Linked DNA regions of Homo sapiens: all the other regions are linked to region 1. Evidence: promoter capture Hi-C in 16 types of primary human blood cells and fetal thymus (Javierre and others, 2016). All regions are on one chromosome and are shown on one strand. The core of a region is centred on a gene start or on the middle of the fragment in contact, and the rest is flanking DNA. Distances in the headings are between cores, read along the strand shown.

Region 1 (5,416 bases), core at 1,272-3,771:
TTGTACGTGTAAGTTTTGATAAATTTTAACTTTTTATAACAGGCTTGTATATATTTTATGATAGTAAATAATAAAATGGCCTAGTATCTACATATATTTTATGCATTCATGACATATCTAGCTTTTTCTTTTCTTTTTTTTTCCATATTTCTTGGCTAAGCGACTCATCTGTGAGGTTTTTCACAAAATTGTTGCCATCGCCAAAAATATTCCATTTACTGAAAAAAATCCACATATAAGTGTACTCACGCAGTTCAAACTAATGTTGTTCAAGAGTCAACTGTATAAAAGGTATTAATATGTCTGGAAAGAGATATGTTTCCAATTTAACAGACACTACCAATGAGAAGAGTTGGGCTAGGCAGGAAACTTCAAATTTTCCTTTTTTACTTTATATATTCTATTTGTATCTCAACTTATAACCTGTGGACCACGTTTATTAGAAGAAAATGCAGATTCCTGAAACTTCCTGCAGACCCCATGAGTGACAATCTCAGGGAGATGGAGTTCCAGAATCTGCTTTTTTTCATAGATGTTTCTTTGCCATTCCTGTGTATATCTGAGTTTCAGTAGCACTGCTAATCAATTGTTTGGGGTTCTCTCTCCTTCACCAGCATGTTCTTGCAAAACTAACCAAACACATATAAAGCGCAAACAGTACAATAGTGCACTGCACCTTCATGACCCTTACCTGTTCCAGCCTCTTCCTACCTCTTCCACATGTGATATGTGTGTACATACCCACAGACAGAAACACAGAGACATGTTTGGAAGCCAGTGTGGATGCCCTGTGATCTGTGTGTACACATGACAAGTGCATACACACGCACATAAAGGAACCCAGAGACGTGTTTGGAAGCCAGTGTGGACACCCTGTGATCTGTGCGTACACATTTGACACCTGCGTACACACTCACAGACAGAAACACAGAGATGTGTTTGGAAGCCAGTGTGGACATCCTGTGGTCTGCGCGTACACATGTGACAGGTACGTGCACGCCCACATACAGGAACACACAGAGGCCTTTGGAAGCCAGCATGGGCAGACAGGCCCTATCCCAAAGCGGCCGGCAGGCGTCTCCTAAGAATGGTTCTCGGACACACCTCTGAAAGGAAAATACAACTCGGCACCGCAGTTGACTCGGCCAAAGGAAAAAAACTTAAGCTGAAAGCTGAGGCCTGCCCGAAGGAGCCTTTCCTGTGGCGCCTGAGCCGAGGGCTTCAGGGAGAGGGCCGCGCATCGCAGCGCAGCCGCCCGTCTTCCCGTGGCTTCCCTACGGCCGCGGCTCCCGCTGCTCCTTTCCGCCGGCCACGCGGGTCGCACGACCTTCCCCTCCCGCCCACCCTGAGGCGCTGAAGCCCTCGACGCCGGCCTCGGGAAAGGCGCGGCCACCGCCCGTTTCGGATTCCCGTTTCCTTCCTCCGGGCGCGTCCTTCACCGTGGCCAAATCAGCCTCTCAACTGCTGGAGCCCGGCCTCGGACACTTCTCGGCTTACGCCGCCATACAGTGGCGCACCCCGAAACCCCGGAACCGACAGCTCGGCTGGCCTTGCGCACCCACACTCTCCAAGGCAGGGCTCGGTCCGGGGGCTGGTTTTGCCAAGGCGAGGGGCGAGGGGCAGCCCAGGCGGCCGGATGGATACCAAGAGGGCGCGTCAGCTCCGGCGGGACGGGGCTTCCAGGGCCCGGGAGGGGTCCAGGACTCCCCGCCGGCGCCTGGCTGTCGGCGGAGGGCCGCGGGGCAGGAGGGAGTGGAGACTGCGGCCCCAGTTCGGGCAGCGCGGAGCCCACCCAACGCCCTCCTCGGCCCTCGGCTCTTCCTGGGGCCATCCCGCCCCTGCACCTCGGCCTGGCACCTTTCCGGTTAGCCTCGGAGGCCGTGGCCGAGCAGGGTGCGTTCGCCTGGCTGGGGGGCCTCAGAACGTTATTTCCGGGTGACAACCTGCAGGGCCTTCCGCCCCTCGCGACCTCTCGGGAGTCCCTTCCCCGGCGCCCCCCCGGGGCTGCAGGGGCTGCAGGTTCGGTCTCGGGGCCTCCTTACCGCAGTCCGCCCGGCTTTAGGCTAGTGGGCTTTAACTACGTCGATAATATGACTCCGGCGATCTTGTGCGGCGATGGGATGCGGCCGTGGGCGGTGGAGTCCAGGCGGAGTCCGCTCTCCACACGCGAGGGCGCCTCCTCCTCACCGCTCGCCGGCTTCAAAGCTCGCGCCTCAGGCGACGGCAGCCAACGGGTTGCCGGCTGGAGGCCCCGCCGACGCCCCGCCCCTTGCGTGCCCACCCGCGCCCCGCAGCCCCGCCCCCAGCGCCGACCCTAAGTTTCGGCGCTCAGTGGTCCGGCGCTCCCCAAGGCTCGGTGTCCAGCGTCAACCCCGAGGTCTCTATGCCCCGCCTCCCGACGCCAGGGGGCAGGGCCAGCGCGCTGCGCGTCGGGGCGGGGCTTTGGCTGCGTCGGCCGCGTAGCCCGCGCGCGGAGCGTACCCTGCTGCGGCCGTTGGCCGTTAGCGCGGCTTCGGCGGTTGTCTTGGAGAAGCAAGATGGCGGCGACGGCGGCCGCAGTGGTGGCCGAGGAGGACACGGAGCTGCGGGACCTGCTGGTGCAGACGCTGGAGAACAGCGGGGTCCTGAACCGCATCAAGGTGAGGCCGGAGGCTGGGGCCGGGCCTGGCGGATCCGCAGGGCTTGCGTGGACAGCGGGCGTCACAACGGTCGCGGCGAGGAGGCCGCCTCCCTGGCGAGGGACCGGGGCCGGCGGGCACTGGGGGCGCGCCCCGGCATGGCCTCCGTCCTGCCCGCCCCACAGAGGGGGTCGGCTCGTTCGTTCGTGTGGTCCCGGAGGGCACCGCGGACTGGGGGTGCCTGGCCCATCCCCTGCCTCATTCCGTGGGGGCGGGACCGCGGGGCTTGGGGGCCACACGGGCGGCCCGCAGCTGGGCCCTGGAGTGCGGCCCCAGCGTCTCTTCCTCAGGCTCGGGCATGATCCGCGGCGGGAAAGCAGCGCGTCCAGCCGAAGCCTGGGGGTCGGAGAGCTTGTGTGACTGAGAACGTTTCGGAAGGCGTTTCTGACCTTTGCACCTGCCCTCCCAGCTCGTTGGCTTGCTCGTGTTTGTTGCTGGATAAATGTGAGCTTGTTGTGAAAATTGTCTTGAAATTATAATTTCCTGTTTCTTAACTTTTTTTTAAGGCTGAACTCCGAGCAGCTGTGTTTTTAGCACTAGAGGAGCAAGAAAAAGTAGAGGTATGAAGTTTCCAGATTTTAACATGGCTGTATTCGTTAATACTTAATTTCTTATTCATTAAAAACCGTCTTAAAAATAGTTTATAGTAACATATAGCTAGGGATAATTTTGAACTGTTAAGGATTACATTACTATTGAGAGAGAGCCAAAATTATTCTTTTTTCGTGTAGCTTTTGAATTTGGGGGTAATCTTAAGGTACCACAGTAACTCTGATACTAATGCTTAATCTGAAACAAATGGTCATAGGAGTTTCTTGAAGAAATGGTGCCATTGTCAATGTGTTAAGTGCAGGTTCACTCAGATCCTTTAGTAAGCTAATATGTTATTAATCCCTATGAAACGGGGTATATAGTATGCAACTTTTCCCAAAATTATCTGACCACTCAATTATTTTGACAATGAAAAAGACAGCGATTATTTTAAAAGTGCAGCCACTACTCTATATTTAAGTGGGTAATTTAACTTTTTCGGAGTCCCACCAACCATCCTGAGTAAATATTCTGGAATTTGTCAACAAGAATAGAACCATCATCAAAGCCTTAAACTCTTGCTGTATGACAAATCAGTCTACTGTCCTCTCACTTCTTTAGACCTGTATACCTAATCTCTAATTTCATCAAAATCTTCAGTTCTTTGCCCTTTCCATGTCTGTGCAGGCATCAGTCTTCTCTTGGCAGCATTTTGCTCTGGACCCTATGGGTCTGGACCCCTAATTACCTTGCCTTAACGGTCATACGTGGTCTGGAAGAAATCTCAGTGGTCATTTAACCCAGCAAACTAACTCTTCCCACTTTGCACATATGTGCTCTTGGAGAAGAGTCAGTCAATCCTGTGGATTGCTGATGTTGCAAATTGGCAGGTACCAACCTGGTTAGGTCCTGAGCAGGCCCAGCAGCTCTCTTCTTCACCCTAGCTGTGCAGTAGCCTTCTATGTCACCCCTGCTTCCTTCTCTCTGAACACATGGTCTTGTTGCTTCCTCCACAGGGAAGGTAGAAGCCATTAGATCCTAACTTTATGTCCTCCTCTCCTGTCCCTCAATCTATTGCTCACCTGTGAAAATGCTTACCTGTGTCTATGTTTATCTGTACCTCTTTCCTTACTGCTTTAGAAGAAGAGGCTCTGTCCTGTCCAAGAATAATCACTCTGTCTTGTGTATACTTTCAAGTCTTTAATTATTTACTGTATCTTTGACCCCTTCCTTTTCTGATGGCTTTTCTTTTGAGCTTGAAAACATGTTTAAATAACTATTAGGAGTAAACTGTTTTCCTTTACTCACATTCTGCTTTTAATACCGCTGTGGTTTTTTTCCTTCACAACCTGGTTTTGACCACTCCTTGGTTTCTTTAGCATGATCTTTTTCCTGTACACCTGACTGAGACTTATCCACAGTTGTCATTCTGTACTGTCTCACAGACTGACCTTATTCATCCAGTAACTCCAGCCCTGTAACTTTCATGCATGTTTCTTTCCCGAGCTTCAGACCTGTATGTTAAACTGCCCACTGTATTATGCCCTTAATGGGACCATCATTTATCTGGCAAGAAATCTAAGCGTTTCTTAGGCCTTGCTCTTCTTTCCACCTGCTCAGCCATCACCTGGCTCTGTGTCTGTCAGGTGTGTATCTGAAGTGTCCCCAAGGGAGTGCTCTGCTGCCTCCTTTGTGCTTGTTTCTTCTTTTCCAGATTGCCTTATCCCCTTCCTACTTGCCAGTCTCCGTTTCCGTGGTGTCCCTCACCATCTCCCTGAAGTCCTTTTTCCACATTGCTCCTAGATTGGCTGTTTATAGTACACATCTGATCTGTCCCTCCATTCTCTTAAAATATTTCAGTTGACTCCCTATCTTAGAATTCCCTGAACCAGCCTACCAACTACCTTGAGGATCTCTCCTCTCCTTGTCTTTTATTTTAACAACTTTATTGAGGTAAAATTGACCTATAGTAAAGCTAAAGTATTTAATATGTACAATTTGATTTTTAATAGTTAATTTATGCAGCTGTGAAATGATCATCACAATCAAGGTACTGCGCATATCCTTCAAACTTTTGACCTTCAAAAGTTTTCCTTGTGCCCCTTATGTAACCCTCTCCCCCACCCCAAACCTTTTTAAGAATTATATAAATGGAATCGTATAGTAGGTACTCTTTTTTTTTGGTCTGTTTCTTCAACATAATGCAT
Region 2 (5,416 bases), core at 1,360-3,859, 720 kb before region 1:
TTTTTTGTGAACATATATTTTCGGTTATCTTGCGTAACTGATTCCACCTAGAAGGGGAATTTCTGGGTCATGTGATAACTCTATGTTTAACTTCTTAGGAAACCACCAAATTGTTTCCCAAAGCATCTGCACTACTTCACGTTCCCACCAGCAACATATAAGGGCTCCAATTTCTCCACATCGTAGCCAACACTTGTAATTGAAATCTTTTTTATTAGAGGCATTCTAATGAGTGTGAAGTGATATCGTGTTGTGGTCAAGGTATTCTTTGATATCAACAATGGTTAACACAACAGTTTCTTTTTCTGAGCCTCATCTTCCAATACTTGTACTTTTCACAAACATCAGAAACATAATCACTAGTCATGTGGCCCATTACTGAATATGACGTAATGATTTTATACTTCAGCCATATTTGCGTCATTGAACTTGTCTAACTGTGCATGTGCGTTTTTGTGTGTATGTTTGGTGTACATGCACATGGGCATGGTCAGGCATTCACATGTATGTTTATGCATGTCTGTACATGCATGCACTCGTGTATGTGAGCATGCCTGTGTGTATGTGTGCTTGTGTGCATTTGTGCAGGTGCATATTTGTGCATGTGTGCATGTGTGTGCATTTTATGTGTGCATGTGTGTTTCTACATGTTTTTGTGTGTACACATTTGTGCGTATGAGTGTATGTACATTTTGTGTGTGCAGGTGTGTTTGTACTTTTTTGTGTGTGCACATTTGTGCATGCGTGAGTGTGTGTGCATTTTGTGTACATGTGTGTTTGTACTTTTGTGTGTGCACATTTGTGCATGTGTGAGTGTGTGCATTTTGTGTGTACATGTGTGTTTGTACTTTTGTGTGTGCACATTTGTGCATGTGTGAGTGTGTGCATTTTGTGTGTACATGTGTGTTTGTACTTTTTTGTGTGTGCACATTTGTGCATGTGTGTTTGTGTGCATTTTGTGTGTGTATGTGTGTTTGTACATTTTTTTGTGTGTTCACATTTGTGCATGTGTGCGTGTGTGTGCATTTTGTGTGTACATTTGTATTTGTACAATTTTTGTGTTTGCATATTTGTGCATGTGTGAGCGTGTGTGCTTTTTGTATGTGCATGTGTGCTTGTACATTTTTTGTGTGTTCACATTTGTGCATGTGTGAGTTTGTGCATTTTGTGTGTACAGGTGTGTGCACATTTTTGTGTGTGCACATTTGTGCATGTGTGTGTGGATTTGTGTGTGCATGTTTGTATATGTTTGTATGTACATGCATGTGTGCACAAGCTTATGTGTGTTTGTGTAGACATGTGTTTGTGCATGTGCATGTGTGCTCTCCTCCCACACAACTAGATCTCCTGGTCACGAGTAATTGTTCCTTTGACCATCCTTTTCCATTACTAAGCTGCCAAATCACGGGTGCCTAACTGGCACCAGGTGCTTCTGGGACAGTGCTCTTCCAGAAGAGCCTAGAGAGCTCACTCTGACCACGGCCCCCAAGCTGCTCCCCTTAACAACTTCCAGAACACTCTGGGGTAAAGATAAAATGAATTCATATTCTGTCTGAACCCCCAGTCCTCAACATAGCTCTCAGACTCCCTTTCTTTTTGAGACGGAATCTCGTCGTCACCCTGGAGTGCAGTGGCTCCTTTTTTTTTTTTTTTTTTGAGACGGAATCTCGCCCTGTCACCCAGGCTGGAGTGCAGTGGCGCAATCTCAGCTCACAGCAACCTCCACCTCCTGGGTTCAAGCAATTCCCCTGCCTCAGCCTCCAGAGTAGCTGGGATTACAGGTGCGTGCCATCATGCTCAGAAAATTTTTTTTTTTTTGTATTTTTAGTAGAGATGAGGGTTCACCCATCTGCCCACCTGGGCCTCCCAAAGTACCGGGATTACAGGCGTGGGCCACCGCACCCGGCCAGCTCTTGTACTTCCTATTCAGCCTCCTGAGACGTAGTTCTGTTAGAAATTCCCTCACATCTTCCCAAGGCCACCAGCCCTCTATGATCTGCTGCCACTGAACCTCACTCTCTCTAACCTTGTCTCCCATTCCCTGAAGCTCAGTTTCATGCCCAGAAGGCCCGACTCATGGTCCGTAAAGTTCTTTCATAGCTCCCTTCACCGTCAGCCCCTTCATACCTTCTAGCTGTGCTCGGACAGCCCCTCTCGGTGAGAGCTTTGCTGAGCACCTTATTAAAATTGCAGACTTCACCCCACCCTCATCCTCCTCTCCCTGCACTACTTTATTCTTCTCCATACTGCTGATTACATTCTAACAAACTGTTTATATACCTGATTTACTTCTGTACAATTCCAAATATAGCTTTAGAAATAATTAACTTATCCAGCTGGCTTCCTGGCTGTCTCCCTCCACCAGACCCAAGCTCCGCTGCCGGGGCTGCTTCACTGTCATGTTCTCTGCCTGCATCCCTGCTGCCCAGAACACTGCCTGGCACACAGGAGGCACTCAATCGGTGTTTGTTGAATTGAATGTGTGTGACACTGGTCAGAGGAGGAAGGAGTAACAGATAAGCTGATAAAAACCATGGTCACTCTAGTGATCATTTTAACCCCAACAAGGGTGAAAATGAGAGGCAATAGCTTCAAGTTCAAGGCATCTAGAAATGCACTTTGAACATCTTAAATAAAATTGTATTAAACGGATAAAAAATATATAGTTCAAATATTTTTATGTCAACTTGACTCTATGCTCTTGAAGCAATTATTCAGAGTATCTGAGTTCTCAATGAACATCTTTCTAACAAGTCTTGGACTTTTCCGTAGTAACAAAAATGGAAGAGCTTCAGAGCACCAGGGCGGGGGGCAGGGGAGCACTACCTGTCTGAGCTCCCGTGTCTTTGTGGGAATGTGGGAATAACAATGTCTCACAAGACTGTGCTGGGGATCAGATGTAATCATGTAAAAAGGAGCTGTGAAGCATACAATGCTAAGCAAACCTTGTTATTCTCACTATGACTACTTCCAGGCTCATCTCCACACTACTGGGGTGAGAAGGGATTTTGTGTAAGGACCGAGCACTTAGCCAGCAGAGAAGTCATTTCCACAGATGGTGTCCTCTGAGACTGCAGGTCTTTGCGGGATAACAGCGCCGTCTTCCTGAGCTGTCCGGAAAGGCGATGTCCATGGGACCCAAGAGCTCAAAGTCCCACCAACCCCCTGAGGCCCCAGTTGCAGCCCCTCAGCCCCAGCCTTTCTGGAGAGGTCTGCTATTTTCTGTTCAAATCCAGAATTCCTAGCTCCTGAATTATTTTGTTTGGACCATCTCCTTGGGTGCATTCGCCCAGCTGTGCTGAATGGCGTTGCGGGGTCTACGGGAGAGCAAGTGTGAAGACTGGAGGCAGTGGCAGCCCGAGGGTGGGGCTGGAGCGGATGGTGAAGGGTGAGGATGGAGCCAACAACCCACCAAGGAACATGGAGCTGAAGGGCCTCTGCACACTGGGACACCTGTTCTCAGTCTTTATCCTCTCAGCTGGGTTGTGCGAGGTCCCTCCTGCCTCTGCACCTGGGGGATCAGAGAGAAGTGGCATTGAGCCTGGGAGTCCTACGGGGAGGCCAATGGGGCAACGCAGACCATGGAAACGCCACGGCACCCTGGAGGAAGCTACACCCTAGAATGGGGCTGACAAAGAGGGAGCTGAGGAGTACACCAGAACCATGAGCTCTCAACCCACTGCAGACGAAAAGACAGCACTGTCTGCACGCAGCCTTCAGCAGCTAAGGCAAGGAAGAGATGCTTGAAGAATCATGTCTGCTGAAAACCCAAGGATCCATGGAGCTGAAGAAAGAGGAGGGTCCAAGGGGGGCCGGAAATAAAGAGACCTGCGCTCAATCAACCCTCAAAGGGAGTTCACCAATTTCTTAGAAAGAAGGGCACTTACGTTAAGTTCATTCTTTCAAAATGATTTCCTGAGAGCCTCTGTATTTCTTCATGAAACAAGCTTAAAGAGAAGCTCCCCCAGTGCACACCAATACGTTAGTATATTGTTCTATCTTTGAATATTTAGATTCGCATTAACTGAAAAGTAAAACTACTCACAGGTCGCAGTCCACAGTGTGGCTTAATCACTTCCAGGCTTTGTATTGTCACGTTAGTGTTCTGACTTGAGGCAAAACTGAATCCTTTGAGGCTATGAGACCATAACAGACAACTGCGTAGAGACCCTGGTGCCCAGAGAATGAGCGGAGCCCTAAGCAGCTGCCCTCCTGAGCTCTATCTTCACAGGCCTCGCTCCAGCCTGTGCACTGCACCTGCGTCTGACTCACAGGTTCCTGATTGCCAAGATGTGTTACAGGAAAACTGTGCACACAGGCATCTTATCACCTTGTTTAAAAAGTATGTTTCTCCTTTTCTCTGGACCGGATCCTAAATCAGAGCGAGTCATTGGTATCTTGATTATTGTCTTGTGTCAAACAAAATGTTTATTTCCCCCGTGGAATGTAAAATTCCCAGAGAGCATTCCTCTCTGGCTCGTACTCATACTGGTCATTCCATCTGCTATAATTTGAATGTGTGCCCCAAAGTTCACATGCTGGAAGCTTCATCCCCAGTGCAACAGTGTGGGGACTGTGGCCTTTAAGAGGTGACTGGGTCATGAGGGCTCTGCTTAGTGAATGGATGAAGGCTGTTATCACAGGAGGGGTTCTGTCGGGATTGGGCTGGGCTCTGCCCCCTTTCCCTCTTTCTCTCTCTTCCGTGCTGTCTTCTGCTTAGTGAATGGATGAAGGCTGTTATCGCAGGAGGGGTTCTCTTGAGATTGGGCTGGGCTCTGCCCCCTTTCCCTCTTTCTCTCTCTTCCGTGCTGTCTTCTGCTTAGTGAATGGATGAAGGCTGTTATCACAGGAAGGGTTCTCTTGAGATTGGGCTGGGCTCTGCCCCCTTTCCCTCTTTCTCTCTCTTCCGTGCTGTCTTCTGCTTAGTGAATGGATGAAGGCTGTTATCACAGGAGGGGTTCTCTCGGGATTGGGCTGGGCTCTGCCCCCTTTCCCTCTTTCTCTCTCTTCCATGCCGTCTTGCCCTTCCGCTTTCCACCATGGGATGATGCAGCACAAAGGTCCTTGCCAGATGCTGGCACCTGAGTATTGGACCTCCCAGTCTCAGAGCTGTGAGAAATAAATTTATTTTATTTATAAATCACCCAGCCTGTGGTATTTATTCTATAATAGCAGCACAAACAGTCGAAGACACCACCCAAGAGGAGTTAGCTGTATTTTACTTAATGCCTAAGTTTTTAGGAACAAGATTGCTCAGGAAGAAATAATGCGTTCAGCGGTGGTGCATTCCGGTAATAAGCTCCTAAAGCACCTGTCAGGAGAAAAATCACATCTTGGACAAACAACACCTGAAGGTATTTTATGGGCAGTCCAGCGTGAGATAACTGCAGAGGCTGTAATCTAAACGTGTGCTGCA
Region 3 (5,416 bases), core at 1,821-4,320, 670 kb before region 1:
CTGTGAGAAAAATTTCTATTCTTCCTAAGTCGCCCAGTCTACAGTATTCTGTTACTGCAGCATAAAAAGGGCTAAGACAAACAACAACCCAAAGATGCGACAAAGATTCTCAAAGAGGGATTCTCATACTCCCAATATAAAGTAGCCCTCTGTCACTACTGCCACACCCTGTTTTAATTCTCTGCACAGCACCAATGCCATCCCATCTTTTTCTGGCTTATCATGTGAACATCTTCTTCATTAAAATGTAAGCTCCACAAGAACAAAGCCTAGAGTGCAGCAGCTCCAAGCCTGGGCTCCGGATTCCCACCTCAGCCATGGTGGGATCCCACCTCCGGATTCCCACTGCCTGCAGGATTCCCACCTCAGCCATGATTTAGGTTCATCGCCATGGGCAGCACTGACTCCCCTGCTCTGTGCTATTATCTCCAGTTATAAACGGGGATGATAATACTGCCTACCTCACAAGCTCGTCATAATACATACAAAACACTTAGAACAGTCCCAGACACACATTAAGTGCCCCACAAAGGCTGGCTATTCCTAGCACTAATACCGTCTGTTATGGGAGACGGCATACAGCAGCAGTCAATACATATTTATTTAATGAATGTAAATCCTGTGGCTGAATTCACAGTATGTACAGAACTACATAAACATCCTACTGGGAAAGTGCTTATTAGAAAGGTAAATTTGGTAGCAAGAGCAAACAAGATATTTTGAGAAGCCAAACGTACCTGGCTAACGCAGCAAGATTGCCGAGGGTATAAAACACTGCAAAAAGCTTTATGCCGCCCGGAAGCCACAGCAATCCAGTTCCCTAAGTTAAGATATTATAGTTATTTTAAAATAATTTTATGATTTTAATGGTTAAAATATAAACGTGCTACTGCAGTAATACAATACCAATATTATGTAATATGTTTAAATACAAATCTGCTTGTAGACAGTCTAGTCTGATTACACAGAAAAAATAGTTAATTTTCAATGTTATACACTAACTTGAATCTTCTTCCTATTTGCACTAGCATATATAAATGAGCCATAACAAAACTTTGTGCTTACCAGTAAATCTCAGTCTATTTAAGTTAAATTTTCATGCTAAATACCAAGTATGAAAAGGTAATAAACATCTAAATTACTGACTCTCCAGATCTTTTAACACATTGATACATTTTTCTTAAATTATTTCAACTATCCACAAAACTCCCCAAAATACTAATTTCTACGTATTTTCATTGATCTCTACCCCTTTATTTTAGTTTAATAAATACCTTCCACCAAAATGGTCTAACAGGGATTTAGTAAAGGACATTAGTTTTTGGTACTAAATGGAATTATTAGTCTAATACAAAATAAAAATTATTAAACAATATAAAGCCTTAACTCACAAGAATAGAAAAGAAAACGCCACATACGAAGCAGATGGCAAACCATTTCAATCTGGTGTTGAAACTAAGGGATGAGGCATCCAGGACCTTAATAAAAAATGGGAAAATTTAGAATATAGTCTTAATTCACTACCAATCTGATTCTTTATACTAAATTAAAGCAAAGTTTTAACACATAGTCTGAATCATTTATTTTGCATATCACAGTGTCATTCAAGAATACTAAGATTCCACGGTTGTTAAGGGTAATATGACCATGGTCTGGGTAGCAGATGATGCTGAGGAATAACCATTAATTTTGCAAAGTCTGATAATATGTTTCACAAAAGTCCTTATCTGTTAGGGACAGCCGATATACACTGATATGGATAAAATGACATATAAGATATATTATAAAATATACAAAGATTAAAAAAACACAGGGGGCAGATGCAACAGGCCAGGCAAAACACTGAAACTGCAGAGGCTGGGAAAGAGTACACAGGTTCATTATCTGTTCTCTCTGCCTCTGCAGGACGAATTCCTCAGGCTCCTAGATGCCAGAGTCTGAGTGCATCCGAGTGCATCCGCACTCAGTGCAAGTCCTGCTGGAGGCAGAGGCTGGCCTTCCACACGCCACCTCCCTTCGGCCGGTCATTGGCTGCAGGCCAGGGGTGGGGTGGGGTGACTGCACCCCATGGAGGGTAGAGGACGCTGGCCACCTACAGGAGGCAGCCTGAGCAGCCCCAGCAGAGACGATCACAGCACGCACCAGACGGTACCCGTTCTAAGCTCTTTCAGTCCAACCCATGAAAGTTTTGGGCCCCTCCTCCACCACTGTAAAAACATACTGTGAAATGATCATTTATTCTAGAGCAACAGCATTCCTATATACCATGCAAATTCTAGCCAAATTATGTGGGGAAAAAAGTAGAAATTACTAAGTCTACTTTGTACAGTATGATAACCCAGCACACAGTAGTGGTGAAATAAACACACTCAGATTACTAATTATACTATTAAAATATATTTTCCAAATAAGGCTAAAAAAGTATCTATCAACAGCAGCTGTGCAAGAAACTAGAAATATACAGCAAGGATTTATATTCCAAAACTTAAATTTCTAATTTATACTACCACATCCACTTAAAAATAAGACTACATGCTTATATTTTCAAGAATAATGAAAAATAAGAGAAAGTTCTATATGCAACAGTTCAAAATACATTTGGTTACATTCCTTACCTCAAGAGATTAATCTGTGAATCCTTATGTAGCATGAAAAGCAGATAAAAATAACTAAGTATTCTGTAATGAAACATATATCACTCTTTAACACATTTTAAATGTTTTTTAAGTTTTAATTCACATTCTTGTTTCCAGCAATGTCATCTGTTTATGGCAAAACTAAACACTTGGTTTTAAACAAAGAGTGAAATTGCCTATAAAAACATCTACATTTCATTCTTACTGATCAGGAAGAATATACACTAAGTATATTTTAACTACGCAGGCCAGAATAAACTGCAAAGACTGAATTACATAGTAAATGATCTGTTAAAAAAAATGGAGACACGCCCATCAGCTTCATTTAACCATCCCACAAAGTATACATAGGTCAAAACATCACGCTGTACACAATAAATGTATATAACTTTTATTTGTCAATTAAAAATGGAAAGAATAATGATTTCTAAAGGTTCGTGTGAGTCCACAATGCTGTGAGGATTTAGTGAGAGGAAAAAGCATCCATTTTTCCTTCTTTTCCAAGTTCAAATCACCCCATTGTTCACAAGTTCAATCGCTGCTTTTCAATAGCCAGTTTTTCTCTCAGCAAGGAAACAGCACGGCTATTTGTATAATAGTAGGTATTTTTTCCTCCTATTGCCATCTTCCGTGTATTGATCTTTAAAACGAAACAGCAGGACAAATTATTTCCACTTGTAAACATGGAATATTCAATCCACAAGCAAATGATTTGTCTCAAGTCTTGCAAATTGTCTAGGATACGAAACAACTATACAGATTTCCTGACTCCTAATTGGGAAAACTGTGATATGCTTCAACATGAAAGAAAACCTGGCAGTGCATCTTCCAACTAGGAGACAGAAGGAACCCTGACGTCTGCTTATCACAAGCATTTTTTTGAGACAGAGTCTCACTCTGTTGCTCAGGCGCCATCTCAGCTCAATGCAACCTCCGCCTCCCAGGTTCAAGTGATTCTCCTACCTCAGTCTCCCAATTAGCTGGGACTACAGGTCCACGCCACCAGGCCTGACTAATTTTTTGTATTTTTAGTAGAAACGGGGTTTCACTATGTTGGCCAGGCTGGTCTCAAACTCCTGACCTCAAGTGATCACCCGCCTCGGTCTCCCAAAGTGCTGGATTACAGGCATGAGCCACGAGCCACTGCACCCAGCCTGCTTATCATAAGCATTTATGTGCTGCTTTCTTTTACCACCAATCAGGAGCAATCCCACCAAAACCAGCAACTTTGTTAATCTCTTAGTCTTAGAAAAGAAATAAAATTGCCACCTCTTCCTCTCCCAAAACCACCATCCATCATTTTACTTATCTGCTACCAGAGGAAGAGGAAGCCAAGAGAATACAGGCCCTTGAGGAGGGGCTGCTCCCCTATTCCCGCCACAGTAAGCACAGCACTGCTTGCAACTAGAACTTCATTCATTAATTTTTTACAAAAGCAGGTGAGAAACATAATAGAGGAAAATGTAGTCCTAGCAGCAACAACATGAAGGCTGAATGAGTGGCTCCCACAGCACAGCCGAAACCCACCCCTTTAAGTGACGGAGAAGCTGAGGAACAGCTCTAATCCACGGATCGCCAGGAGACAGCACAGCTGGAAGGACCTGAGCCTTGCCCCTGGGCTTCTGCCATCTAAACATAGGAAACACTTGTGGCTTTCCACTAATGATGACACTGAATCCAGTATTCCTCCCACTCCTTTTTCAAAATAGCAGTGGGTATAAAAAGTCAAAGTTGTGCAGACAAGTGAGAAAAAGAAACAGACATCCGCAGACCCTCAGGCCCATTCCAGGCAGAACCGCCCGCTCCCCACACCCGCTGCTGGGGTCCACACTTTCTCCTTCTCATTCAGGACTCTTGATCGCGGGGCCTATCCAGATCCTTGCAGCATGCGGCACGGGTTCCACGTGTGCGTGGGCAGCCTGGCCTTTCTGTGCAGCATCCCCTGATCTCCACTGGCCTTTCCCCTCCACTCCACTCAGTGACCCAGCCCAGGGCAGTCTTCCTGCTCGAAATTACACCATCGCCAAAATTCCGGCTGCCGCTCTCCGACCCGTTTCTTCTGGCAGCAGGCTGGTTCCTCGGCCCCACCGTGCTGACTCCTTGGCCTCCTGAACTCCTCATCCGGCCCTTCTCCGTTTTTTCAGCGGCTTCAACAGGACATTCAAATTCCCTTTCCGCTGCCTCCACCTGGTAAAATCCCACCGGAGTGCAGCTTTCCCTCCTCCTGCTCCAGGAGGTGCTGAGCTGAGCACTGCTGGGTGGAGTCAGGCACAGGGCAGGGGGGTCCTGAGCCAGTCCTCATCAGCCCCCCATGGCCTGCACATTGCTGCCTGGCAATCTAAGGCTTCTTGCTTTATCTCAACGTCCATTTTACTCTAAACCACTTCAAACCTCCACTTCCTGCCCCACACTTCCATTCTTAGCAGACAACTTCCCCTACTTCACACACAGAAACCCAAAGCCATCAGTGTGAACTCCCTTACCTTCCTGCTGCCACCAAACCACCAAACCACCAAACACACCAACTAAGAACACCCATGCTCTTGTCCTTTCCTGGTTCCCACAGAGCTGAGATCCACCTGTCCACCCTGCTTTACAGCCAACCCCTTACCTGCTCAGGGAATTGATGCTATTGGGCTTTTTCCTCTAGTGAACATGTTCTCACTCTCTGAAAATGCATCCATCAACTTTTAAACATGAAGTCCCTTCCATCTTAAACAGAAAGCTTACTTCACTTCACCTTCCAGCCTCTGTACACTCATACATCCATTCATCCATCC
Region 4 (5,416 bases), core at 1,229-3,728, 620 kb before region 1:
CAATCTCTTCCAGAAATACCTGCATAAACATGCCCAGAAATAATGTTTTACCATCTATCTGGGTATCTGTTAACCCAGTAAAGTTGACACCTAAAATTAACCATTGCATTTGTCTTTTTGGAGCATTGATCCCATTATCATATGTAATGTCTCTCTTTATCCCTGGTAATTTTCCTTGCTCTGAAGTATGCTCCATCTATAGCTACCAACGCCTTTTCTTGATTAATGTTAACATGGTACACCTATCTCTACCTATTTACTTTTAATCTATATGTGTATTTACACTTAAAGTGGGTTTCTTGTAGACAATGTATATTGAGTCTTATTTTTTGATCCACTTGTACAATATGTCTTTTAATTGGTACTTTTAGTCTACTGATATTCAAAGTGATTATTGATATAGTTGTATTACTATTTACCATATTTGTTACTGTTTTCTATTTGTTGTCCTTGTTCTTTGTTCTTTTTTTGCCTTCCATTCTTTTTCTGCCTTTTATGGTTTTAAATGAGCATTTTATATGATTCCATTTTCCCTCCTTTCCTGGCATATCAGTTATAATTACTATTATTATTATTTATTCTTTTTTTTTTTTTTTGAGACAGTCTCGCTCTGTTAGCCAGGCTGGAGTGCAGTGGCAGACCCATGCCGGCACCCAGGCCACCCTGGAAGCTGGTGCTGCTGCTGCCCACTCGGGAGACAATCAAGGAGCTGATGTGGGCACTGGGCCTGCTCATGTAGGAGGAGCTGCTGAAGGCCCAGGGGCCAGAGTTGAACACCTTGTAGGGCTGCTGGGTCACCCTGATGGACATGGTGGAGGCAGAAGTGGAGGCAGGCAGGCTGAACCAGGAGGAGATTTGAAAAGGAGCAGAGGAGCTGCTTTTAGGTCAGTCTAATTTTTCCAAAATTATGGTAATGTTAGCTTTCTCTGAAAGTACTGAGAGCAATTTAAGTAATTTATAACTTACTTATGTAGTACTAAAAGGATCCAACTGACAGCCTAGCATAGTATATTTCTAACATTATTCAAAGTAAAATGGGATAAAATTTTGAGATATTTTAGATCATAATTCTACAGTTTGCTGAAATTTATTCTTACCAAATTTTGTCTAGTTTTCTAGTTCAAATTAAAATGAGGGAGGGTTTTGACAATTAGAATTTGTGATATTCAGCTATATTTAGCGAGCCAAAAGTCAGCTGAATGACAGTAAAGATCTTTGTGACTGGACTATCCAGATATTAAGAGATTCTTATGGCCAGTCCTGCTTCAACATTTCCAGCTTCATTCAATTTCTGAAAGTCAATTATATGGCAGGGAAGTGCTCAAAGAGTCCAAGGACCGGGTGTGAAAAGCAGTTTGGCAGAGAAAAGGGAGACATATGCAGGAAAACATGGAGCACAAAAATATCTAAAACCTTCTTTTCAAAACCATTTCTATGCATTACTATTTTCCTTTAAATCCCAAGTTGACATTTCTGTTTTAGCTTCACAAGTTTGGTATCCAGAGGTTCTGAAGTTATCTGTTTGGTTCAGATATCAGCCTTCTCATGTGGCAAATGAAGCACTGGAATTTCTAAGGCCTGTTCCAACTCTAATATTCCACAAGTTTGGGAAAGATTCACTTTTATTTTACTGCAACTTCTCACCTGGGTAGTAAGTATAAATTCTGAAAGCTTTCCTGGAGACTCAGAAGTTAAAATTAATTTAGAATACCTGATCAACTTGAGAATATTCAATGCAAACATCCCACTAACTTCAGATTCATAAGCATACTAAGTGATTAACTGATTTTAAAGCACTCTATGATCTAGGTTCTTCTTAAGAAAACATCCTCTGCACACATATACAAATACATGTGTGTGTGTGTGTGTGTGTGTGTATCCATTCACCTTTACTGTAATATACAAACTTGAGAAGAGGAATAAGTCGCTAGAATAAAGCTGCACAGACCTTGATTGAGTTAATCATTAAAATATATGTCCTACCTCAAAACTGTTTTGCTTATTCTAATTTATTCTTCTTAACCAGAAATCCAGGAAGGAGAATGAGAGAAGAGGAAAAGCAAAGAAGAGCTCTCTTTTTCTATTCTGTCAATAAGAAAGGTGAGGGAATAGTTTCTTAAGAAAAAGGTATTGGAATAGAGACCCAGGAAGTTCTTGATTCAAGATCCTAATCAAGGTAAGTAACAAGAGATGGAAGAAAGTACCAAAAAGAGAGTACCAGAAATCCTGGGGATTAAACATGCAATATTAGTTACAATAAAAAATAAATTGAACACTTACTTTTGTCAAGCGCTATACTATGTCATTAAACAGCTACGAAAGCACAAAAGCTAAACAATTTGCCCAAGCTCACAAAGCTGGAAAGCAAGAGCTGGGCTTCAAATCCATCATTCAAACTCATCACCTAGGTTTAACGGTATTATTATCACAATTAACAATTGTCAATAATTATTTAATATTATTTAATACTGAGATCCTATTTAAGTGTTCCGTTATCCCAGTAATGCCTTTTCCAGCTGTTTTTTCACACCAGGCCCAATCAAAGTCCACACATTATCTTTGGTTCTTAGGTGTCCTAAGTGAGAGCCTGTTTCATAACCTCTTTCAGTGAAATAAAAAAAAATCATTTAAAATACATGTGGATGGGCTGGGCACAGTGGTTCATGCCTATAATCCCAGAGCTTTGGGAGGCCAAGATGGGAGGACTGCTTGACACTGGGAGTTCAAGGACAGCCTGGGCAACATAGCAAGGTCCCATCTCTAAGAAAAAACAAAAAACTAGCCAGGTATGATTGTGCACACCTGTAGCCCTAGCTACTCGGGAGGCTGAGGCAGGAGGCTCACTCAAGCCCAGGAGTGGGAGGTTACAGTGAGCTATGATCATGCCATTGCACTCCAGCCTGGGTGACAGAGTAATACCCTGTCTCTAAATAAATAAATACACTTGGAAATTCAGTTTAGTAAGAATGTTCAACTTGATTCATAAAACATGATTGAAATAAATTTATAATCTGTGTAAAATATGATTTTAAATTTATGCTGAAAAACTCAATTATGTTATTAATTTTTAAAATTCTAGAACAGCTTTAGTTGAGAAAACCTCTAGACCCCTTCAGTAGGCTACAAAAAGAATGCAGAGGATGCAAAGTGTGTACAACAGGCAACTGATGAAGTAAAAAGAGGAAGGGATGGAACCTTGTTTCTGATTAGAAGAAAAGAGATACAATGACGTTTTCTGCTTTATATTTTATTCTCCTTTGCTAAAGAAAAGCCGGGCTGTAAGCGTAAAGCTTGGAAGAACAAATAGGAAGTACTTTCCTCTGATATGTTCTAGGAAGAAATGTTTCTCTTTCTAGGGCAGGAAACACTAAAATAAAAAGCTTCTGGTCAGAGTGTTGATACCTGACCTCAAACTGGCCCTCAATCACTGTTTGGCAGACCTAGCATGAATTCCCACTGCTGCCAAGAATGGCAGGGTAAACAGATCAGCTGAATGTTTCACATCACGTGTTCACCTTTCAAAAATAATTTCAGTTCAAGATCATAGAGCTTTATAGCTCACACAAGATTTTAACTTTCTAAATAACTGTAAACTTTAAAAAATGTTTTCGCTTGCAAAAACAGAAGGATATAATAAAATGTAGAGTGATTTGGAGTTTCCAAGTATTTTCACATCCCTTATCCAATTTAATTTTCTTGATAACCCAAAAAGAGCATTATCATTAAACCCATTTGATGGACAAATAAAGTCTGCTGGGATCAACTTGCTGGGGATCCTGGACTGTAAGTCATTCTTCTGAATCTTAGTGTGGTGCTCTACCAGGCAACACTGTTCCGAGTAATGCAATTCTCTTCTTTTCCTTATTTAGTCAAAGTGTAATTGAATTAAATACTGGAGAAAGTATAAAAATTTAAAGCTACATAAAGTTAATTTTAGAAAAAAAGGTTAGATGATATACTGAAGTATCCTATTGAAAAGCCTGGCTCTTGGAAACCCATTTAGTAGAAGAAAATATAACACTTAGAAAAGCAGAACTCTCTTCCTTGAAAATATATTTAACAAATTCTTCCTATGTAATGAAACTGTTAGGGCCGGGCATGGTGGCTCACACCTGCTAACCCCAGCACTTTGGGAGGCCGAGGTGGGCGGATCACCTGAAGTCGGGAGTTCGAGACCAGCCTGACCAACATGGAGAAACCCCGTCTCTATTAAAAATACAAAATTAGCCTGGCGTGGTGGTGCATGCTTGTAATCCCAGCTACTTGGGAAGCTAAGGTAGGAAAATCACTTGAACCCAGGAGGCGGAGGTTTGGATGAGCCAAAATAGTGCCAGTGCACTCCAGCCTGGGCAACAAGAGACAAACTCTGTCTCAAAAAAAAAAAAAAAAAAAAAAAAAGAAAAGAAAACGGTTAAGTAATTATCAGCATAATTTTTATATAGCTAGGTGTCATAACTGTATTTTTAATTTTACCACACAATGTTATCCTTAGCTGTACCTATTAGGAAGGCTCAGTATCCAACACATTAGTAAAAAGCTAAAGTAATATTCAAAGCTGTAGAGAAACTTAACAGCAAGGATTGAGAGCATACCCTCAGACTGCTACCTTGTTCACATTTTTACTACCATTAATCTGATACATTGCTGTGCTCCACAGTGCTAAACACCCATCTTAATTAATAGTAGTTCTATTTAAGCATAGAAATGTCTTTTTTTGAAAGTCAGAAGTGAAGCTTCTGTTTACAAGTTTACCATATGGCAGACTGAATTATTTTTCCTACCCTACTGCTCTATAAAAGTAGAAGTAAACAGTATTTGCAATAAAATTCAGGATTTAAAACTTTTTTATTGCTAAAATCAAGTTGCCTTCATACTATCCCTTTTGTGTGGTTATAACAGGATTTATTCCTCCTCAGCTTTCATCTCTTTACCTCTTGACCACACTATTAACTACCGAAAAAAAACCGCAGCTGTACACGTACCTAGGTTTTAAAATCATACACTGAAAAACTAACTAAAATTACACTCCTAAATAACCTAAAACTGCTTCAAAGTTATATTCAATATTTTGAAATAAAAGCAAGCGCCCCAAGATGAGAGGTGCAAATAAATTATAGAAAGTGTATTTTCAGGCTTTCCAACCGCGAATGCTCTTTGTTTCTAACTGGAAAGGAGGAGTTAACAGAAAATAGAACAAGAAGAAAAAGTATGACCTTAGAGACACGTCACTTTACTTTGGTTGACAGAATTTCGTATATAAAAACATCTTAAATTGTACTTCCTCCCAAGCTTAAAGTCCTTAGAATGAGAAAACCGAAAGGCGAACCCAAGGCCAGCACATTTTATTTCCGCTGTCCCAGAAGCGCGCTGGGCGCACCCGAAGCTCCGCTCCAACAGCGCCGCGCCGCGCTCTCAG
Region 5 (5,416 bases), core at 2,417-4,916, 590 kb before region 1:
CTCAGATGCATCTGAGATTGAGCATTAAGCTGAGTTTCTCCACAGATAAAGGTGACAGCCCAAGTGTGAGTCCAACTCTCCTCTCCAGGCCTGTCAGTGGATTCTTAGACGATATTCAGTTCAGCATTTGGGGTCCAGCGTTACAACACTGAGCCACTGGGAGGCAATTCTCCATGGGTCTCTTGCCTTTCTGCGGTCTCTAGCTGCTTTGGCTCTGAACTGTCTTTCCAAGGACATTTGTGTAGTAGACAGCCCTGGGAGGCAGAGGCAGCATCTCTCTCTGTGGCCAAGGGCAGGCGTCTTCCTGTCCACTGTAATCGGGTGTCCCCTTCCAGGGCAATGGGGGGTGGGTTTGCCTGCATCCCTCCATGAACAATTAGGGTTTCCTAAGTCAGGGTCCTCATCTGTGATGCAAATTCAACGTGTGCAGCATGTCCACCTGGGCCACTGTCCACCAACCCATAAGGCTTGGGGCCCACAGGGACCGATGTGTGCGGGGCCCATGCTGTTTGCTGGGCCTAGCTGTTTGCTAGGTCTGTGACCTAGAAGTCTTGTGCCTTCATCCAGCATCCGTGAGCCTGCAAGTAGGGCCAAGCCTCAGAGACTTACTTCAGTCTGGACAGCTTGTCTTCCCCAACCAAAAAAATATGTGCAGGTGGACAAGTGTACGCAGAGCCACGCTCAACTACATGTATGCGGCAGGCGGGATAATCCATCCCCCCCACCAAAGTCCACGTCCTAATCCCTGGAAGCTGTGACAAAGGGGAACTGAGGTTGCTGGTGGAATTCAGGGTGCTAATCAGACCACCTTAAAATAGGGAGAGTTTCCCAAATATCCTGGTGGGCCAGTGTGCTCACAGGGCTTAGAATTGGAAGAGGGAGGCAGGAGGGCTGGGCGGAGGAGAGGGTGTGAGAACTCCACCTGCCACTGCTGAATTTGCAGGAGGGAGGGAGGGACCACGAGCCACCAAGCGCAGATGGCCTCTGGAAGCTGGAAGAAAATCGGATTCTCCCTGAGAGCCTCTGGAAGGAGGCAGCCCTGCCCACATACCGGTTTTAGTTCAGAGAGCCCTGTCTTGGACGTGTGACCCACAGAGCTGTAAGACAGTAGAATATGCTGCTGTTTTAGATTTGCTATGGCAGATATAGAAAATGATACACAGAGGATGTAAGAGGCATTTTTTTCAAATGATGCCTCTTTCAGTAGGCATTTTTTGGGCACTTCTGGGTACAGCAGGAGGCAGGATTTCTTCTGCATCTATTGTTTGTCCTGCAATTTCCTCAGTGGGATCCAGGGCTCCTGCCTACACAGTGAGTCTCACAGATTTCAGCAAGGCCCCCTTCACCCTGCTGGGAGAGCAGCTCAGAAAATGGGGCATCCTACTACAGGAGCAAAGGTGTGTGTGTGTGCCTGTGTCAGTATGGTGTTTTGTGTGTGTGTGTGTGTGCTGCTTGCTGACACATGCTGGTTAGGAATTTACCAAATAGGAAGAAGAAATTAGGTTGGAGAGCCAAGGACCAACAGTGCAGACTGGCTTTATGTCTGTATTAAGAAGGGATGGGCATGCTGAGGCCAGGTGGCAAAGCACAGGAGACACAGTGAGGTAAAAATCCTATTCCCAGGGCCATGTGCTGGGCACCTGCTTTGCTGCACAAGATGACCGTCCACTGTCTCCTGCCAGCCCCAGATCCATCACACAGCTGGGCTCCTCTCAGGGGTGCATCCCCCACACACACACACAGGCCCTAATGCACACACAGATAAACATACATCCATATGTTCACATGTGCATATGTGCTCTCATGCACGTTTATGCATGTATACACATGCATGAAATCATACTTCCACATATACACACATAAGCACACACGTACACACATGCATATGCATGAACTCACCCACCCACACACCTGTGCACACACACATAAGCATACATGTGTACACACTCATGAACTCACCCGCCTACACATGCGCACATGTGCACACACAAGCACACACACACACGTGCATACACATGCATGAACTCACCCACTTACACACGCACACATGTGCACCTACACATATGTACATACACACATATGCATGAGCTCACCCACCTGCACACACCCACGCACAGGGCTCTGAGTTGGAGTGGTCGTGATGCTGCTTCACCTCCCCATGAGGAGTCATATGGTAGCAGCAGAGGTGGTCATGACCTGAAGCCAGCGGGAGGGGCCAGAGGAGTGGGGAGCTATCCAGACTGTTATTGGTAACAACACAGAAAGTCCAAAGGTTATTGTTAGGCTAGAAAAAGATTACACTTCATAAAACCATGTTTATTCAAAAAAATCTATTCAGAAAGTCTGGAAAGCGTAATAAATATCTGTACAGTGGCCACCCATCTCAAACATGAATTACAAAGCAGGAACATAAAAATGATGTGTAAACATAACTGCTGAGCCAGTGAACAAAGTGCTGAGTCAGGAGCGAGGCAGAGAAGCGTGCTCAGTAGAACGACACAGATGCTGCAGCCTCCGTCCTCAGCCCCTCAAGCTGCGCTGGAGTCCACCTTCCGCCCTCTCCACACCGCTCAGGGACCGGCAGCGTCCTTCTCCATTCTCGAATTTGCATGACGCTTAGAAAGGTAGGAGGCAGCAAAACGTGTCAGAAATGAACGGAGTGCAAATCAAACTTTGCCATGTGCTTGAGAGAATCAGTAAAGCGTTAGGTAAAAATCCCAAGTGCAGCTTTAGGATAACACCATTTAATGAACAATACTGGATAACATTAAGTACTATTATCACTTTAAAATTCAAACAATCTTCCAAACATCAATACATACACAGTTAGTTTAAAATCACAGACAAATCGGACTTGAGGGTAAAAGTGAAATCCTCACCTCTTGCCCATGTTTGACTTTGGGATGGAATTCAGCAAAGCTCTCCCACTGCAGATTGGGAGAATCAGGTATTTCTCCCACATGGGGGGCTGCCAGGGAAGGAGGACCCTATAGGGTGGCCAGCAAGGGGCCACTGGCGGTAGGTCAGGAAGCCTGAGATCTAGGGTTCAATGTGTTTATAAGTTCTGTGATTTTCATGACCCGGGGGTGGGGGGTTGGGTTATGATGAACTGTGTGAGGAAGGAGAGCCAGTTAACTTTTGGGGAGGTCTATGTCATTTGTGCAAATCATACGGAGCATTTCATTCGTTGTGGAGGTGCGCTGAGCTGGCAAAATGCGAATTCTAAGAACACCTTCATTTACATGTCGACTGCTGCTTGAAAGCAGTCACTTGCTATTTCACTAAGGTTTTTGAAAGCTTAGTTTAACATATGATACCATAACTTCTTTAGGCTGACTTTTGTGGAAGGATGTCAAGTATCATTTTGTTCTGGATATGGGAGGGAAAGTAGAGGTATTTCACAGACACTCAGCGGAGCAGGGCCAAGCCAGTGTTCTCCTCCGCTGATGCACATCAAATACATGTAAGGACAGAGCTCGCTGTGATGGGGAGTCTCGTCGGTCCCTTTGGCATTCTTAGAGTTCAGAAGCTAAGTCTGTACAAACTGGGATGACTGAAAAAGACCATGAGCTGGTGCCCCATGGGCACACAAGGAGGGAAAACCGTGGCCGCTTTCTCACGGATGCTTTCCCTTTCACTTCCCCCACTTCTCACTCCCTGCACCAGAACCCACTGACTTTAAGCAAACAGACAGGCCTGCACACCAAGCCAGGCCAAAGGGTCCGGGCAGCTGATGGGGGAATCGTTGCCTGTGTAGCAAGCAGAAAAGGTGATGACTTTTGTTCATTTCTGGGAGGACAGATTGTGTGACCTCAGGATTATCCACTTCTTCCTAAGTTTCTAAAAAGAAGTGAAATAATTAAGACCTAAAAAGCAAATTCATCATGGTGGAAGTCGTTCTAGCCTTGGGAAAAAGCATCTTCTATGGAGAAAATGTGAGGAATACCCTGTGGGCACTATGGAAACAGGTATTCAGTCCGACTTGCTCCTTTTATGTTTTGTGGTTCTCTAAGAAAAAAAAAATCCACATGGATTAAAGCTTGTGAAACAAGTTTATATTTTAAGGTCTGAAAACAATCAGACCAAGCTAAGGAGTTATTTTTCAGAACGCAGCACATTTTTTCTTTATTTTTTTTTTTTTAGTTGGGTACGAGAATCGAGATGGAGGGGGAACAAAACCCAACAAAATAACATCTTCTTAGGGAAAACCTGGCTGTGGCCAGCGGGCACCTCCTGAAGCCCTGCTTGCTGCAGAGGCGCCGCTCTTCAGTGATGCAGGGTGAGGGGCTGAGCGGCGCCTCCTCCCATCTAGTCTGCTTGGGGGCCGCCAGGGAGCATCTTCAACACCCTTACAGGACAATGAAGGACCCGTGTGTTCCCTCTGCCGGCTGGACTGGGCGTCGATCCTGCTGCCCGGAACCTCTCACTCGATTTTACTCAATGAAGTAGAGCACAGCATGGCCTAAATGCCCCACACCCGCCCTGTGTGCACACCCAGGGGAATACGGATCAGTGTGAAAAAACAGATCTGTGCAACAGAGACACAAAACGCAACACAAAGCCACAGCATCTACAAAGTGCATCGCTCCTGTCCACGCTGATCTCCGCTGCCCTCCCACCTGTGCCTCTGCCCCTCAGTCTGCTGGGTGGGGCCTGTGTCTCCCTCCAGCCTCCAGCTGGACTGAGAAGGTTTGGGTGGGAAGCCACAGAGCTCCATTTCTCCAATTCACAGTTTCTCCACAGACCAGAAAAATCGAAGTGAACACAGCAAAACCACAGCTTTAGGTGAGCACACAGGAAGCCGACACAGGGCTGAGCAGGTGCGAGAACCCACGACTCCCTGCAAAGCCTCCAGATAGCTGTGTGGCCACGGGAGCTGGGGACAGACGGCAGCCCAGTGCGCTTGGCCCCCCGGGGAAAGCCGAGACTGGAGGTGGACACAGGCTCCTCCGAGAGGCACCCCCTTCCATCCTGGTGACACGGAGCTCTCAAGGCAAAGATCCAGCCTGCCTTCCTCTCGTCTGGGCTCTTACTCCTCATTTGAATCTGGGACAGAGGAAAGGATGGGCTACCCAGCACCTCAGGCAAAAACTGAAGGGCGAGGAGGAAACGGCTCTTTGGATTATTTTGGGCAGAACCAGGCATCTCCTCCTGGACGCCACAGTGCCAACCCCGTCATCCAGCCCGTGGGGAGCCCCGGGATGCCAGGTCACCCCAGCCCTCTGGGGCCCTGCAACCACCAATGGCTGCGCCCTCGCACTGCCACTTTCCCACCGGGTACCTGGGACGTGGGTGTCGGGAGTCTGACCAAACCGACCGGCTTCATAATTGGAAAACAGATCTCTCGGCAGAAACAGAAGCCATGTATGAGAGGACCCGCGGGCTCTGAAAGAAGCCCCCGGCCTCGCACGGGCAC

Evidence for each region. Contacts are between HindIII fragments. The CHiCAGO score rates a contact against its expected background, and 5 or more counts as called.
Region 2: a contact is called between a fragment that was not itself captured here and the fragment with the promoter of CEP43 in region 1, in 4 of 17 cell types (non-activated CD4 T cells, total CD8 T cells, total CD4 T cells and 1 more). The highest score is 6.2, in non-activated CD4 T cells.
Region 3: a fragment that was not itself captured here is called in contact with the fragment with the promoter of CEP43 in region 1 in 1 of 17 cell types (non-activated CD4 T cells); the score reaches 5.7 in non-activated CD4 T cells.
Region 4: a contact is called between a fragment that was not itself captured here and the fragment with the promoter of CEP43 in region 1, in 8 of 17 cell types (monocytes, erythroblasts, naive CD4 T cells and 5 more). The highest score is 7.9, in monocytes.
Region 5: a fragment that was not itself captured here is called in contact with the fragment with the promoter of CEP43 in region 1 in 7 of 17 cell types (total CD8 T cells, naive CD8 T cells, fetal thymus and 4 more); the score reaches 14.5 in total CD8 T cells.

Annotation. Positions count from the first base shown.
Region 1 is chr6:166,996,876-167,002,291 of GRCh38, forward strand. CEP43 (centrosomal protein 43) reads left to right here and starts at 2,522. Exons shown (of 13, transcript NM_007045.4): 1 at 2,522-2,639; 2 at 3,185-3,238. The coding sequence starts at 2,538. MIR3939 (microRNA 3939) reads right to left here and starts at 1,037; the gene lies at 932-1,037. RefSeq lists an enhancer at 1,004-1,053 and silencers at 1,594-1,823, 2,114-2,633, 2,724-2,883, 2,894-2,983. The HindIII fragment of the contact is 9,184 bases long and covers 1-5,416 here.
Region 2 is chr6:166,278,365-166,283,780 of GRCh38, forward strand. No RefSeq gene overlaps it. Among named protein-coding and RNA genes, the nearest start is that of PRR18, 27 kb to the right of the region's middle. The HindIII fragment of the contact is 2,671 bases long and covers 1,275-3,945 here.
Region 3 is chr6:166,328,770-166,334,185 of GRCh38, forward strand. It overlaps SFT2D1 (SFT2 domain containing 1), which reads right to left. Exons shown (of 8, transcript NM_145169.3): 2 at 1,392-1,478; 3 at 738-820. Among named protein-coding and RNA genes, the nearest start is that of SFT2D1, 11 kb to the right of the region's middle. RefSeq lists an enhancer at 4,851-4,900. The HindIII fragment of the contact is 4,577 bases long and covers 783-5,359 here.
Region 4 is chr6:166,376,567-166,381,982 of GRCh38, forward strand. All of the region lies in intron 1 of MPC1 (mitochondrial pyruvate carrier 1), which reads right to left. Among named protein-coding and RNA genes, the nearest start is that of MPC1, 3.7 kb to the right of the region's middle. The HindIII fragment of the contact is 1,619 bases long and covers 1,670-3,288 here.
Region 5 is chr6:166,407,091-166,412,506 of GRCh38, forward strand. It overlaps RPS6KA2 (ribosomal protein S6 kinase A2), which reads right to left. Exons shown (of 21, transcript NM_021135.6): 21 at 2,274-5,416. Among named protein-coding and RNA genes, the nearest start is that of MPC1-DT, 27 kb to the left of the region's middle. The HindIII fragment of the contact is 742 bases long and covers 3,296-4,037 here.